Linked DNA regions of Homo sapiens: all the other regions are linked to region 1. Evidence: promoter capture Hi-C in 16 types of primary human blood cells and fetal thymus (Javierre and others, 2016). All regions are on one chromosome and are shown on one strand. The core of a region is centred on a gene start or on the middle of the fragment in contact, and the rest is flanking DNA. Distances in the headings are between cores, read along the strand shown.

Region 1 (2,700 bases), core at 75-2,574:
AGACTGGGGAAGCGGGGAGAAAGATGAAAGGAGTAAGCAGCACACACTTCAAAGCCCACTTTTAAGCACACGACATTATGAATATTAAAAATAAAGGATGCAAACAAAAAAGGCAATTCAGCATTTTCAGAAAGAGCATTTGGCAATATTCAACGCATAAGGAGACTGTGCTTGGGGCCATCCACTCTCTCCAGCTTCTCAAAGTGTTTCCGGGCATTGCGAATGTTGATCAGAGTGGCCGCAGAAGGGATCGACGGATCTGACATGACCACCATCACGTACGTATTTGAGGTGAAGATGTCGATGAAAGCAGCGAAGTTGGAATTCCTAACTTCCATGCTCTGGAAGGAAGCGGCCAATTTACTGCAGCTCAGCTTGAACTGTTTGATGATGTTGCTGATCTTCTCAAACCGGTGGACGTCGCGCTGCTCTTTGCACTGGTAGTGGGAAATAACCAAGAATGTAGCTCTTTCGAACAGCAGAACTTCATCGGCCTCAATGATTTGGGCAAAATTCCTGAGGTTCATCTCCAGCTGCTGAACGTTGGGAATCAGCTGGTAGACGATGCTGGACCAGGCTTTGTAGAGCGTCTCATCCCAGATGGACGTTCGAAAACAAGCACACTCCAGCGGGCGAGACAGACGCCTCAGGTCTTCCTCTCGCTCTTTAAAAATCAGGTCACGCTGATCCTCCTGAACCAGATCCATTTTGTGCACCAGGCAGAAGATTTTGGCGTCAGGAGAGTTCTGGAGGATGGCCTCCAGACACGACTGGTAATAATGCATGTCCTTTTCCAGTTCGCGGCTCTCCACGTCAAACACGTAAATCAAAACTTCCACGTTACGGAAGATATTGTCTCGCTGGCTGGTGAAGTAATTTTCCATGAAGGTGTCCTGACCGCCACAGTCCCACAGGTTCAGCACCAGGTTCCCTAGGAATCGGACGTGGGAGTGTTCCACGTCAATGGTGGCCCCCAGGCGCCGGGTGTCGCGAGCAATGTAATTGGCGAAGATTATCGACCTCATGCTGGTCTTCCCCGACCCGCTCTTCCCCATCAGCAGCACCTTTTTCTTCATGGCTGTATTTGGCATCACCCGCCGGGGCACCGCGGACTGGGCCTGAGGGCGCGGCCTACACGCAGCGCCGAGGGAGGGGTCGGGGGCTGCCGGGGACTCGCAGGCCGCGCCTCGCTCCGCTCCGCCGCGCAGCTGGGCAGGCAGGAGAGTCGAGAGCGCGAACCCGGGGCTGGAGAGGCCGCGGACGGGCTGGCTCTTACTCAGATGGGAGCGCCCGCGGCTGTCAGTGGCAACGGCTCGGGAGATACGCTCGCTTTCCGGGAGGGAGCCGCTGCGTCCCCGCCACCACCCACTTCCGGCGGCGATCTCGCGAGAGCTCCCTCGCTCCGCCCTCCGTGCCCGACGAGCCTTGAAAAGCCGCTGCTCTAATGAAACCTAACCGGGGCGGCGTGAGCCCTAAGATGGAAGGGAAGCTCGAGGACTTCGGTCTTTTGTTCTGTTGCAGCTGGGTTTGCTGTTGCTAGGGGTACGTGTGTGGTTGGCCGGGGGAAATGCTGCCCTCTCGTGGCCAAAAAAAGCCCCAACCGCCACCACCACCGCAACTGGCTTTAGGAGCGAGGTGTGTCGGGCCGGTTTCCGCAGGGGCAGCCGACTGGTGAAGTGGAGGGAAAGCCTAACTTCCCAGTCCGCTTAGGCCTCCCCAGCTTGCCCGGCCCAGTGAGTACAAGGGCAGGGCAGATGGAGACTGTGCAGGCGCGGAAAGTGAGACTTGTAGGCAAGCGATTGCCTGTTGCTGCGCAGCTAGGTAATAGCAAGTCCCTCCTAGGAGACATCCTGGCTTCCAGTGGGTGCTTTTAATTCCTTTCTCACATCTGCTTTTCCGTAATCTCAGACTTTAGAATTTATAATTAGAATTCCAAAGCTCGAGGAAATGATAATGTGGAATCCCAGGCATTAGTTCCATCCTCACAGTAACCCTGTGAATTAATAACCCTATTTTCAAGTTAGGGAATCAAAGGTTAGAGAGGTTAAGTCACTTGACCAAGTTACACAGATACTAAATGATGAAATGGAATTTGGTTTTAGACAATCTTGCTGCGGTCTATTTGCCTAACAATAGGCTACCCTGTGCCCCTCTCAAAGCATAATATGATTCTGCTCTTGGTCTTCAAGTAGATGAGTGAATCAGTGTCGCCAGTATCGTTCATACAGAATGAATGAGAGTCATCAGGATACTGAAGCCTCTGTATCTACCTTAAAGTCCTTTTTTTTTCTTTTGAGACGGAGTCTCACTCTGTTGCCCAGGCTGGAGTGCAGTGGCGCGATCTCAGCTCACTGCAACCTACGCCTCCTGAGTTCAAGCGATTCTCCTGCCTCAGTCCCCCAAATAGCTGGGATTGTGGGCACCTGCCACCACGCCCGGCTAATTTTTGTATTTTTAGTGGAGACGGGGTTTCACTATGTTGGCCAGGCTGGTCTGGAACTCAAGCCAGCCACCTGCCTCGGCCTCCTAAAGTGTGGGATTACAGGCGTGAGCCACCGTGCCTGGCCTAAAGCCCTTATCAAAGTGTATACTGTACTGTACAAATTCAGGTATTCCATTCTTTCATTTATTCAAAAAATATTTTAATTCCTACTGTTAACGTGTGCAGTAAAAGAAGTTCAAAAATGGCCTTTGCTGTAG
Region 2 (2,700 bases), core at 152-2,651, 300 kb before region 1:
CCAAAATTTAAAAAGTGATAATACCAAATGCTGGTAAGGCTATATAGAAATGAGAATTCTTGGGTACTACTTGTGGGAGTGCAGCCGTCTAGGAAGCAATATTTTGTGTTTACTAAAATCATGTATGAAAATGATCTTACTCCAAGGATTATCGTTTTCTTAGAGAAACTACTTCACAAGTCCAAAAGGGGACATGTATTTTGCAGTGCACTGCATTACTACCGTGGTGTTTGTAGTAACAGAGAACTGAAAGTAACTGAAGTACCCAACACTAGAATAATGGATAAGTAGAAAGGTATATTAACTTCCTGTAGAAGAAAAGGAATAAACTAGATGTACATATAGTAACCCAGATTTAAAATAGAGCAATAAAAAGAAGTAAATTTAGATATATATCACACTTAGCAGAGTCAGTGTCTTCGTAGAATAGGGGAATGAGGGTGGGAATGAGGAAAGGAGGATAAACACGAGAGGGCCCTTGCACAGTCCAAAGATGATAGTGTGTCAGGAATTAAAGAGTATGATTTGACTTAGCTCCACCCTTGAAGCTAAAAGAAAAAACAGAGAAGAAACACCTCTACAATTAAATGGTGTGATTTCAGCTCACTGCAACCTTCGCCTCCTGGGTTCAAACCATTTTCCTGCCTCAGCCTCCTGGTTGCTGGGACTACAGGCATGTGCCATGGTGTCGGGCTAACCTTTTTTGTATTTTTTTGTAGAGATGGGGTTTTGCCATGTTGCCCAGGCTGGTCTCGAACTCCTGACCTCAAGTGATCTGCCTGCCTCGGCCTCCCAAAGTACTGGGATTACAGGCATGAGCCATCATGCCCAGCCTAAATGTTTTTGTTGTTTTTTCAGAGACAGAGTCTCTCTCTGTCACCCAGACTGGAGTGCAGTGGTGCAATCTCAGCTCACTGCAACCTCCACCTCCCAGGTTCAAGCAATTCTCCTGCCTCAGCCTCCCGGGTGCCTGGGACTACAGGCGCACGCCGCCACACCTGGCTAATCTTTTGTATTTTAGTAGAGACAGGGTTTCACTGTGTTGCCCAGGCTGGTCTCGAACTCCTGAGCTCAGGCAATCCACCTGTCTGGGCCTCCCAAAGTGCTAGGATTAAGGTGTGAGCCACCACACCTGGCAGTGTATTTTTTTTAAAGCAGCTAAAGGCAGGAAATAAAAAGTTCAATTTGTTCCATAAAATGAATGGAATATTAAGTATAATTCCCTAGGTCAGCACAGAGTCACCAAACTCTCAATTATTTTATGTATAATTATAGATCAGCTAGTCTTATATCTATTGCCTAGAATTTGGTCATTTCACTGCACAGAATACTACTAGGACGTGCAAGTGACAAGAGAAGAGTTGAAGCCTTTTTTTCCCCTTTGTTTCTTCTAAAATATATACTCACTGCAGCTTCAAACTCCTGGGCTCACGCGATCCTCCTATGTCAGCCTTCCTAGTAACTGCTACCACAGGTGCACACTACCATGCCCAGCTAATTTTAAAAAATCTTTTGTAGAGACAGGGTCTTGCCATGTTGCCCAGGCTGGTCTTGAACTCCTGACCTCAAGCAATCCTCCCACCTGGGCCTCGCAAAGTGTTGAGATTACAGCATGAGCCACGGAGCCCGGCTGATAATCTTACTTTAAATAAAATGGAAAAGTAGACTCCCACATTACTAGTATTTGCTACTCAAATACTGAAGGTGAAGGACAGACAGGAAGGCAGACCTGGAGCATACCAGGAATATTTCACTCTTCTCCCAGAAGTCGTGTTTTTTGAGGGTACTTACTTCTTGAGAGAGCTTTTATAAGACTAACCTTGCAGAACCTCTCAAATCTTTGAATTCTATATTGAGAAGAGGCAAGAAGTTGCTTTTACAGAATGGACAAGCTGTATTCAAATTTGAGTCATCTGCTGTCCATCCAGCCATAATTTCTTCATCATAAACTAAAGCTCCACAAGCTCTACACTGTGAACAACTGGACATCAAAACCTAAAAACAGAAAAATGCAGACACTGAGAACGTTTAATAAAAATTAATCTTAACAGGAATTCTCTTGAGATAATGGGATTTTTTTTATTCTACTGATCAAATTTGGAATTATTAATAACAGTTCTTTTATTTCACAGGTAAACTACCAGTTCAATGTCTTACTTACATAAGACATCAAGCAAATTCAACAAAATGACTTATTTTATTATACTGTCCACAAGGGTATCTTAGAATCCTGTTAAATGCCATTCTGAAATAAAAATATGCTTACAGCTACTTTATCATGAACTGAATATAGAACTTTTACCTCCATTGCACAATTCTGATAGATGCTAGACATGCTGGTATTTTGAGAAGAACCATGATCTGATTTTTCAAAGTCTTGCCCTTTCATGCCTCTTGGAAATGGAACTTCACCTACAAAGGAATATACATCGTAATACCTTAAGTAAGGAATGTCCTTGTTTTTTGAAAATGCATGCCAAAGTATTTAGGGGGGACACAGAATAAAGTCTGCAACTGTTTTTCAAGTGGCTCAGTATAAAAATGTATGCATACATAGAAAGAGATAAAGTTAACAATAGTTAATTAAATCTAGGTGGAAAATACATGATTGTTCATTATACGATTCTTTCAACTTTCAGGACATTTGAAATTTTTTTTTCTTTTCTTTTTTTTTTTTTTAGATGGAGTCTCGCTCTGTTG
Region 3 (2,700 bases), core at 12-2,511, 400 kb before region 1:
AAAATCCAGAAATCCTAAAGAAAAGATTAACAGATGTGACAACATGAAAGTTTAAAACCAGTATGGCACAAAAATATTAACATACTGAAAGACAAATGGGAAACTGCAGGGGGGCAGGGAATATTTGTACCATATGACAAAGTTTAAATCCCTACATACAAAGAACACTAAAGAAATTAAGAGCCCCAGCAAATAGATTTTTGAAAAGATAGCCCACACCCCAACTATTCGAACTCCCTTGGCTGTCTTCCTAGCAAAGGAAGCCCACTGCATGAGGGGCGATAAGCAGAGAAGCCAGCCACCATCTTGCCATCACGTGATCTTGACTGATGATTTCTTGTTGGCACACAGGAGGGACACATAGGGGACACCAATGAAGGCCCATTTCTCATTGGGCCAGAACTTGATGACAGGGCCTTGCTCAGGAATCTCTGAGGCAGCATCAAAGTAGGCAAAGCATACACAGCCCAGGTAGGCAGCAAGGCAGATGAGGATGTGCCTGCAGAGGGAGACAAGAGGTGAGAACCTGATGAGCATGAAGACTCCGCTGCCCTGAGTTTAGCCTGCTCCTTCTTCCGGTCTAACCCACGCACCTTGCTGACTGTAGTTGCAGCCCAGGGGCCTCTTCTAATTAGGAAAGGATGAAGATTACCAACAATCCCTGGAATAGCAGGATGATAAATCTTCAGCAATTTGGGACCCGTTTTAGAATGTTCTTAAATAGTCCTGCTGGATAATAGGAACAAATGTGCAAATAAATGCCTTTGGGCCTCAAACAAGAAGACTGAGGCCCAAGGATTTACAACAGAGATGCTAAGATGGAAGTAACTGAGCACATCTGATTAGAACCCACCTTCTCACTTTAACAACTGGTTACAGATATTTTATGTCCTTCATCAGGAATAATTTTATGTTGGTTAAACCACTTTTGCAGTTTAGTGGAAATTTTAAAAAATTTATCCTCACTGTACCTGTACAAAGTTTTAAATTTATATTAAACTTTATCGAACAATAGACCATTTAAAAGCATGTAATCCTTTTTTTTTTTTTTTTTTTTTAAATGAAGTCTCACCCTGTCATCCAGGCTGGAGTGCAATGGTGCAATCTCGGCTCACTGCAACCTCTGCCTCCTGGGTTCAAGCAATTCTCCTGCCTCAGCCTCCCAAGTAGCTGGGATTACAGGCACCCACCACCAGGCCCACCTAGCTAATTTTTGTATTTTTAGTAGAGAGGGAGGGGGTTTCACCATGTTGGCCAGGCTGGTCTTGAACTCCTGACCTCAGGTAATCCACCTGCCTCGGCCTCCCAAAGTGCTGGGATTACAGTCGTAAGCCACTGCGCCCAGCCCAAAGACAATATTTTTATAAACTTTGATGTTGGGGAGGAGGGGATCTTTTTAAAAATTACACAAAATCCAGAAATCCTATAGAAAAGATTAACAGATGTGACAATATGAAAGTTTAAAACCAGTATGGCACAAAAATATTAATATACTGAAAGACAAATGAGAAACTGCAGGGGGGCAGGGAATATTTGTACCATATGACAAAGTTTAAATCCCTACATACAAAGAACACTAAAGAAATTAATCAGGGTCAGGGTGGGAAGTAGGTGAGAATGGTATGAACCAGATTGGCCTCGTGTTGATAGTTATGGAATCTGGGTGTTGCCTATATGGGGGTTCAATGTATTATTCTCTGTACTTGTGAAAATGTTGCAAATATGCATAAGTGGCACATAGTTACGTAGCTAGTAATGACTGTCTACTATGTGCCAAGCCTAGATGCTGAATATAAACTGTTTTATTTTTTATTTTTTGGAGACGGGGTCTCACTCTGTTGCTCAGGCTAGAGTACAGTGGCACAATCTCAGCTCACTTCAATCTCCGCCTCCCAGGTTCAAACGATTCTCCTGCCTCAACCTCCCAAATAGCTGGGACTACATGCACATCCGGCTAATTTTTTGCATTTTTAGTAGAGACGGGGTTTCACCGTGTTAGCCAGGATGGTCTCGATCTCCTGACCTGGTGATCCACCTGCCTCGGCCTCCCAAAGTGCTGAGATTACGGGCGTGAGCCACCACGCCCGGCTGATATGAACTTTTAAAAATAGAAACACTCAATAGACCAGACAAAGAAAATTAAAAGGGGAAATACACATCACAAATTGACATTTGAAAAGATGCCCAACAAAAATACTAATTTTTTAAAAAGACATAATAATAAAAACAAAATATAATTTTTCTCAAACAGGTTAATGGAGATTTAAGAGTTTCCAGTATATGTGAAAGTGTGGGTAAAAAATGCTCTCTTACAGACTTCAGTAAACAGTGTTAATGGTACAGTTTCTCTGGATTTAGCAATATATAATATTAATTTAACATATGAAAATATTCAGAAACTCAAATCAATCTAGATGTTCATTATAAAGTGTTTGCAAAAGTGGAAAATTAGAAATAACCTCAAAGTCCGTTATCAGAGAGAGGTTGGTTAAATAAATTATAAAGTGTCCATATTATGAAGCATTTATTAGACACAAAAATGAAGATTATATATATGTATTGGTATGGAATGATGTCTGTATAGCATTAGATCTATGTAGTATAGATTTAAGTATTTGGTTAAAAAAAAAGTTTGGGCCAGGCTCAATGGCTCATGCCTGTAATCCCAGCACTTTGGGAGCCCAAGGCAGGTGGACCTGC
Region 4 (2,700 bases), core at 169-2,668, 270 kb before region 1:
TTACGTGTAGAATTTTCCACTTGTGGCATAATGTCAGCCCTCAGAAAGTTTCAGATTCTGCAGCATCTCAGGTTTTGGATTTTTAGATTAGGGAAGCTCAACCTGTGGTAACTGCATATATAGCTCCTTCTGCCTAATTAAACCACGAAAAATACTTCTATCAAACTCTTCACTGAAATCTAAATCCCCTATAAGGAACCTCCAGCTCTACAACTTTTAAGTAGAAATTTCTCTGATACTCTGCATACTCTTGAGTCCATGGTCAATTTCCAAAGAGTCAATGTCCTTCCTCTTTAATGTTGCAAGACCATTATTTCTGTATTGTGTTTTTAAAATTTCTGCTCATTAAAGTTTCAAGCATCTGACTATTCCACAATTTCCTCTATTAATCGTAGACATCTATTGATTTCAGGGACACTCCTTCATTCACTGAAGACCAAGGCATCTGATTCAAGGTCTCCTCCTTTCTAATTCCTACCACCATCATTCTTCCACACCCAGAAGCACAAACCATGAAAACACTTTAGATTCTTCTTCATTCCTTTTTTTTTTTTTTTCCAGACAGAGTCTAGCTCTGTCGCCCAGGCTGGAGTGCAGTAATGTGATCTTGGCTCACTGCAACCTCTGCCTCCCAGGTTTAAGTGATTCTCCTGCCTCAGCCTCCTGAGTAGCTGGGATTACAGGTGCCCATCACCACGACTGGCTAATTTTTGTATTTTTAGTAGAGACGGTTTCACCATGTTGGCCAGGCTGGTCTTGAACGGACCTCAGGTGATCAGCCCGCCTTGGCCTCCCAAAGTTCTGGGATTACAGGCGTGAGCCACTGCACCTAGCCTCTTTTCTTTTAAGAGATGGGTGTCTTGCTATGTTGACAAGGCTGGTCTCGAATTCCTGGCCTCAAGTGATCCTCCCATCTCAGCCTCCCAAAGTGCTAGAATTACAGGCATGAGCCATCATGCCCAGCCTTCATTCCTTGATTTTCAGTGATCCTATGCTCCATCCTACCTCAATCACCAACTTCAACACACAGTCACAGTCCCTTGACTTTCCTTGCCAGCATTCAAAACAACATTGCCTCTCAAATCTCTTTTTCACATCACTCCCAGCCCATTAGCTCTGCCTATCTGGTCTCCTTAATTAAGTATTTCTACTAAGTGTTTTAGGGTTTTTTGGGTTTTTTGTGCAGGGAGCAGAGAGGGAAGGCTCATGGAAATCTCCAATCCACTGGCCCCCTTATTTTTTTTTTTTTTTTTTTTGAGATGAAGTCTCACTGTATTGCCCAGGCTGGAGTGCAGTCAATCTTGGCTCACTGCAAGCTCTGCCTCCCGGGTTCATGCCATTCTCCTGCCTCAGCCTCCTGAGAAGCTGGGACTACAGGCGCCCGCCACCACGCCTGGCTAATTTTTCACTGTGTTAGCCAGGATGGTCTCCATCTCCTGACCTCGTGATCCGCCCACCTCGGCCTCCGAAAGTGCGGGGATTACAGGCCTGAGCCACCGCGCCTGGCCTCCACTGGCCCTTTTACTTCTATGTACATCCTCCCATCTTCACTTCTTTCTCCGTCCAATACTGATTCCATGCTATATCCATCATTTCAATTACTGTTTTGTCAATACTCTCAACCCCTCTGCTCTTTTGTCTTTTTGGTTAAACCTACCTAGCATAACCCAGCTCTGGAGGAATGTACTACTTGCCTTCTCTGGATCTGCATTAGGGTGGCTGAGCACAAGTTAAGGGGAAAAAAAGTTCCACAACTAGGCAGATCAGAAGCACTTATACCTTCATCCCTCACCAACAACCCTACTACATTTCTGGAATCAATTTAATTTTCCTCTTCACATGTTTTCACAACTATTTCCAATTTGTATGCGCTCTCCCTTCATGTTTTTTGTGCCCCCTCCGCACCCCGAAATGAGCATACTTCAGTGCAATGAAAATGCAGATCATTAAATAGAAACTATGTACACTATCTCACTACATAATTTATGACTCTTTAACAGCTATCCTTTATTCCTTCTGCCTTTTTACAGTGGATATGTCCCTCCTCCTATCTAAGGACAAACCATCACATGACTTCAGGATTCCAGCCCCTTCCAGTGTTCTCAGGATAAATCTCCCTCTCTATTAGCTATTTCTCTTTTTTTTTTTTTTTTTTTGAGATGGAGTCTCACTCTATTACCCAGGCTGGCGTTCAGTGGCGTGATCTCGGCTCACTACAACCTCCACCTCCCAGGTTCGAGTGATTCTCCTGCCTCAGCCTCCTGAGTAGCTGGGACTACAGGCATGCGCTAATTTTTGTATTTTTAGTAGAGACAGGGTTTCGCCATGTTTGCCAGGCTGATCTCAAACTCCTGACCTCAAGTGATCCACCTGCCTCAGCCTCCCAAAATGCTGGGATTACAGGCGTGAGCCACTGCGTCTGGCCTCTATTAGCTATTTCTCATCAGCATACTCAAGTCTCTTTTTTCCATCTAAAAAACAAAAACAAAAACAAAACAAAACAAAACAAAAAAAAAAACCTTCGATCTGCTCCTTCCCTTTTTTCTGTTGTTTTACTTCTTATAAAGGGCATGGCCATTCACTTGGTTGTTAAAGGCAAAAACCTCAAAGGTGCTCTTGATATCTCCCACTCTACCTTACATTCCATATTCAATCACCAGGTTCTACTCAATCTAATTCCTAAAAAAATCACTCTTCTAT
Region 5 (2,700 bases), core at 109-2,608, 380 kb before region 1:
CTCTCTGTACCCAGCGGTTTAAGAATTACGCACAGGTCAGAGAGGGTAACAGAGTGATTCAAGGCATAGGTGTTCCAGTGAGACCGATATGCATTCAAATCCTGCCTCCATTGCTTAGTAGCTGTGAGACCTTTGGCAAGTAACTCAACTCTTTGAGCCTTTCCCACATAAAAATTAAGACACTCTGCCTCACAGTGTTTTTGTAAGCATTAACACAGTGCCCAGTACATATTATGTACTAATAAAATTCATTATTACTGTTATCCTTACCATCATTTTAAATATAAATACCACTTTAAATAATATTATTGTTGTTGATATCATACTCTCAGGGAAAACGTAACTGAGCTGCTGTTGCAATCACCAAAGGCTCCACAGAGTACTGCCAAATGGTTTAAAGGCAGTAAGCTTGAAAAAAACATGGGTTTTTGTTGTTGTTGTTGTTTGGTTTTGTTGGGTTTTTTGTTTTTTTGTTTTTTTTGAGACAGAGTCTCACTCTGTCACCCAGGCTGGAGAGCAGTGGTGCGATCTCAGCTCACTGAAACCTCTGCCTCCTGGGTTCAAGCGATTCTCCTGCCTCAGCCTCCGGAGTAGCTGGGATTACAGGCACCTGCCACCACCCTAAGCTAATTTATGTATTTTTAGTAGAGATGGGGTTTCACCATGCTGGCCAGGCTAGTCTCAAACTCCTGACCTCAGGTGATCCACCTGCCTCAGCCTCCCAAAGTGCTGAGATTACAGGCATGAGCTACTGCACCCAGCTGCAAAACATGCTTTCTTTAGGGAGGCCATCTGCAGATGCCTCCCCACGTCAAGTCCAGAAGGTGTACAGGAATGTGCTGGCCAACAAGGACATCCTGTGAACACAAGCAGCCGGGAGAAGTAAACAGAGGCTATGTGGCCAGCAGAAAACCAGTCAGCCAGCCCAGCAGACCCCAGAGTCAACAGAGGCCCTGGGTACAAGAGAGCTAGAAATATCCAGGAGTAAGAGGCCCCAACAGGGTGTTTTTCTAAACTGTGATTGATGACAGCCTCTGGTCCTGTTTTCAACTTTCCAGCCCATTAGGGTCTCACACTGAAACACAAGGTCAGGAAACCCTTAGCATCACTGCTTCCTGTATTCTCTAATCCAAAATCTAACAACCCAGTACCATCATCAAAATATTTTTATAGTAAAGCTGTTACTGTTATCATTTACTACCCTTTAAAGTAGTGGTTTTCAAGCCTATAGCCTGTGTCCCTTTTAACCAAAGTAAAGCTTTGTTTTCAGACTTGAAAACCACTATCATTGGCTTTTTTACACAGTAAAAAGGGACACAGGGTATAGGCTTGAAAACCACTATCATTGGCTACTCTTTAAAGCAGTGATAATTTCATTTCATTTCTGAAATGAAATGAAATTTATAGATGATAAAACCTCCCATCGTAATGACCACCAAAAACATGTCCACAAGCTTTATAAATGTCTCATAAGAACTGGAAATGTCCCTGGTTAAGATCCACTGCTATAAGCTACCAAAACATAATCTATTTAGAACAGCCAGCCCTTGATAGTTACAGCAATATAGCATTTGGTCATGAAACGGACCTCAGAGAGCTACTTCAACCCTGTTATTTTATAACTAAAGCACTAAGGCCCAGAGAGTTTAAGATTCCAGCCTCAACTCATCCAGGAAGAATGCTAGCAGGGCGGGCAGATCCCAGACTGCTCCCTTGCTATTCAAGATTCAAAAAATAAAGTGGATTTTATCTAAAGATAAAATCATAAAAACTATAGCAGAATAAATTATTTAAGAAGTGGATACAAGGTTGGGCACAGTGGCTCATGCCTGTTATCCCAGAACTTTGGGAGGCCAAGGTGGGAGTATCTCTTGAGCCCAGGAGTTTGAGACCAGCCTGGGCAACATGGTAAAACCTTGTCTCTACAAAAAATACAAAAATTAGCCAGGTGCAGTGACAGGCAGCTGTGGTCCCAGCCACTTGGAAGGCTGAGGTAGGAGGATCACTTGAGCGCAGGAAGCAGAGGTTGCAGTGAGCCATGACTGTGCCACTGCACTCCAGCCTGGGCAACAGAGTGAGATCCTGTCTCCAAAAAACAAAACAAAAAAAGTAGATACAATTAGCCTATAATAGTTCCTTGTTCTCATTTTTTTCTTAAAATAAAAACTCTAAAAATTATTAATAACCATCAGCAATTCAGTATATGTCCTAAAGAGTCTCAGGACATTTTAGGCAAGATGAAAGAAAGTTTTTTTCTATAAACCCAACATTTATATCCTATTGACATAATGAACATTAATAATTTCCCTACATAAAATATGTACAACTATTACATATCAATAAAAAATTCAGGCCAGGCACAGTGGCTCATGCCTGTAATCCCAGCACTTTGGGAGGCCGAGGCGAGCGGATCATGAGGTCAGGAGTTCGAGACCAGCCTGGCCAACCTGGTGAAACCCTGTCTCTACTAAAAATACAAAAATTAGCTGGGCATGGTGGCAAGTGCCTGTAATTCTAGCTACTTGGGAGGCTGAGGCAGGAGAATCATTTGAACCCAGGAGGCAGAGGTTGTAGTCAGCCAAGATCGCACCACCGCTCTCTAGCCTGGGTGACAGAGCAAGACTTCATCTCAAAAAAAAAAAAAAAAAAAAAAAAAAAAAAACCCACTTGTCCATAAGCCATTCATAATAACCACCAGAA

The links. The method cuts DNA at HindIII sites, captures the fragments that hold promoters and counts their contacts. A CHiCAGO score of 5 or more calls a contact.
Region 2: a fragment that was not itself captured here is called in contact with the fragment with the promoter of RRAGA in region 1 in 6 of 17 cell types (total B cells, naive CD4 T cells, activated CD4 T cells and 3 more); the score reaches 7.2 in total B cells.
Region 3: a contact is called between a fragment that was not itself captured here and the fragment with the promoter of RRAGA in region 1, in 11 of 17 cell types (activated CD4 T cells, non-activated CD4 T cells, total CD4 T cells and 8 more). The highest score is 11.0, in activated CD4 T cells.
Region 4: a contact is called between a fragment that was not itself captured here and the fragment with the promoter of RRAGA in region 1, in 6 of 17 cell types (M0 macrophages, non-activated CD4 T cells, naive CD8 T cells and 3 more). The highest score is 6.7, in M0 macrophages.
Region 5: a fragment that was not itself captured here is called in contact with the fragment with the promoter of RRAGA in region 1 in 12 of 17 cell types (naive B cells, total B cells, total CD8 T cells and 9 more); the score reaches 12.7 in naive B cells.

What each region holds. Positions count from the first base shown.
Region 1 is chr9:19,048,051-19,050,750 of GRCh38, reverse strand. RRAGA (Ras related GTP binding A) reads right to left here and starts at 1,324. Exons shown (of 1, transcript NM_006570.5): 1 at 1-1,324. The coding sequence starts at 1,091. The coding sequence ends at 150. It also overlaps a transcript of SAXO1 not described here. RefSeq lists a silencer at 1,066-1,255 and an enhancer at 863-1,384. The HindIII fragment of the contact is 15,757 bases long and covers 1-2,700 here.
Region 2 is chr9:19,351,785-19,354,484 of GRCh38, reverse strand. DENND4C (DENN domain containing 4C) reads right to left here. Exons shown (of 33, transcript NM_001330640.2): 25 at 2,303-2,412; 26 at 1,820-1,995. Among named protein-coding and RNA genes, the nearest start is that of RPS6, 27 kb to the left of the region's middle. The HindIII fragment of the contact is 5,968 bases long and covers 1-2,700 here.
Region 3 is chr9:19,448,249-19,450,948 of GRCh38, reverse strand. It overlaps ACER2 (alkaline ceramidase 2), which reads right to left. Exons shown (of 6, transcript NM_001010887.3): 6 at 1-499. The coding sequence ends at 313. Among named protein-coding and RNA genes, the nearest start is that of MAP1LC3BP1, 14 kb to the left of the region's middle. The HindIII fragment of the contact is 9,286 bases long and covers 1-2,700 here.
Region 4 is chr9:19,321,288-19,323,987 of GRCh38, reverse strand. The region is part of intron 12 of DENND4C (DENN domain containing 4C); the gene reads right to left. Among named protein-coding and RNA genes, the nearest start is that of RPS6, 58 kb to the left of the region's middle. The HindIII fragment of the contact is 3,316 bases long and covers 1-2,700 here.
Region 5 is chr9:19,428,739-19,431,438 of GRCh38, reverse strand. The region is part of intron 3 of ACER2 (alkaline ceramidase 2); the gene reads right to left. Among named protein-coding and RNA genes, the nearest start is that of ACER2, 21 kb to the right of the region's middle. The HindIII fragment of the contact is 196 bases long and covers 1,261-1,456 here.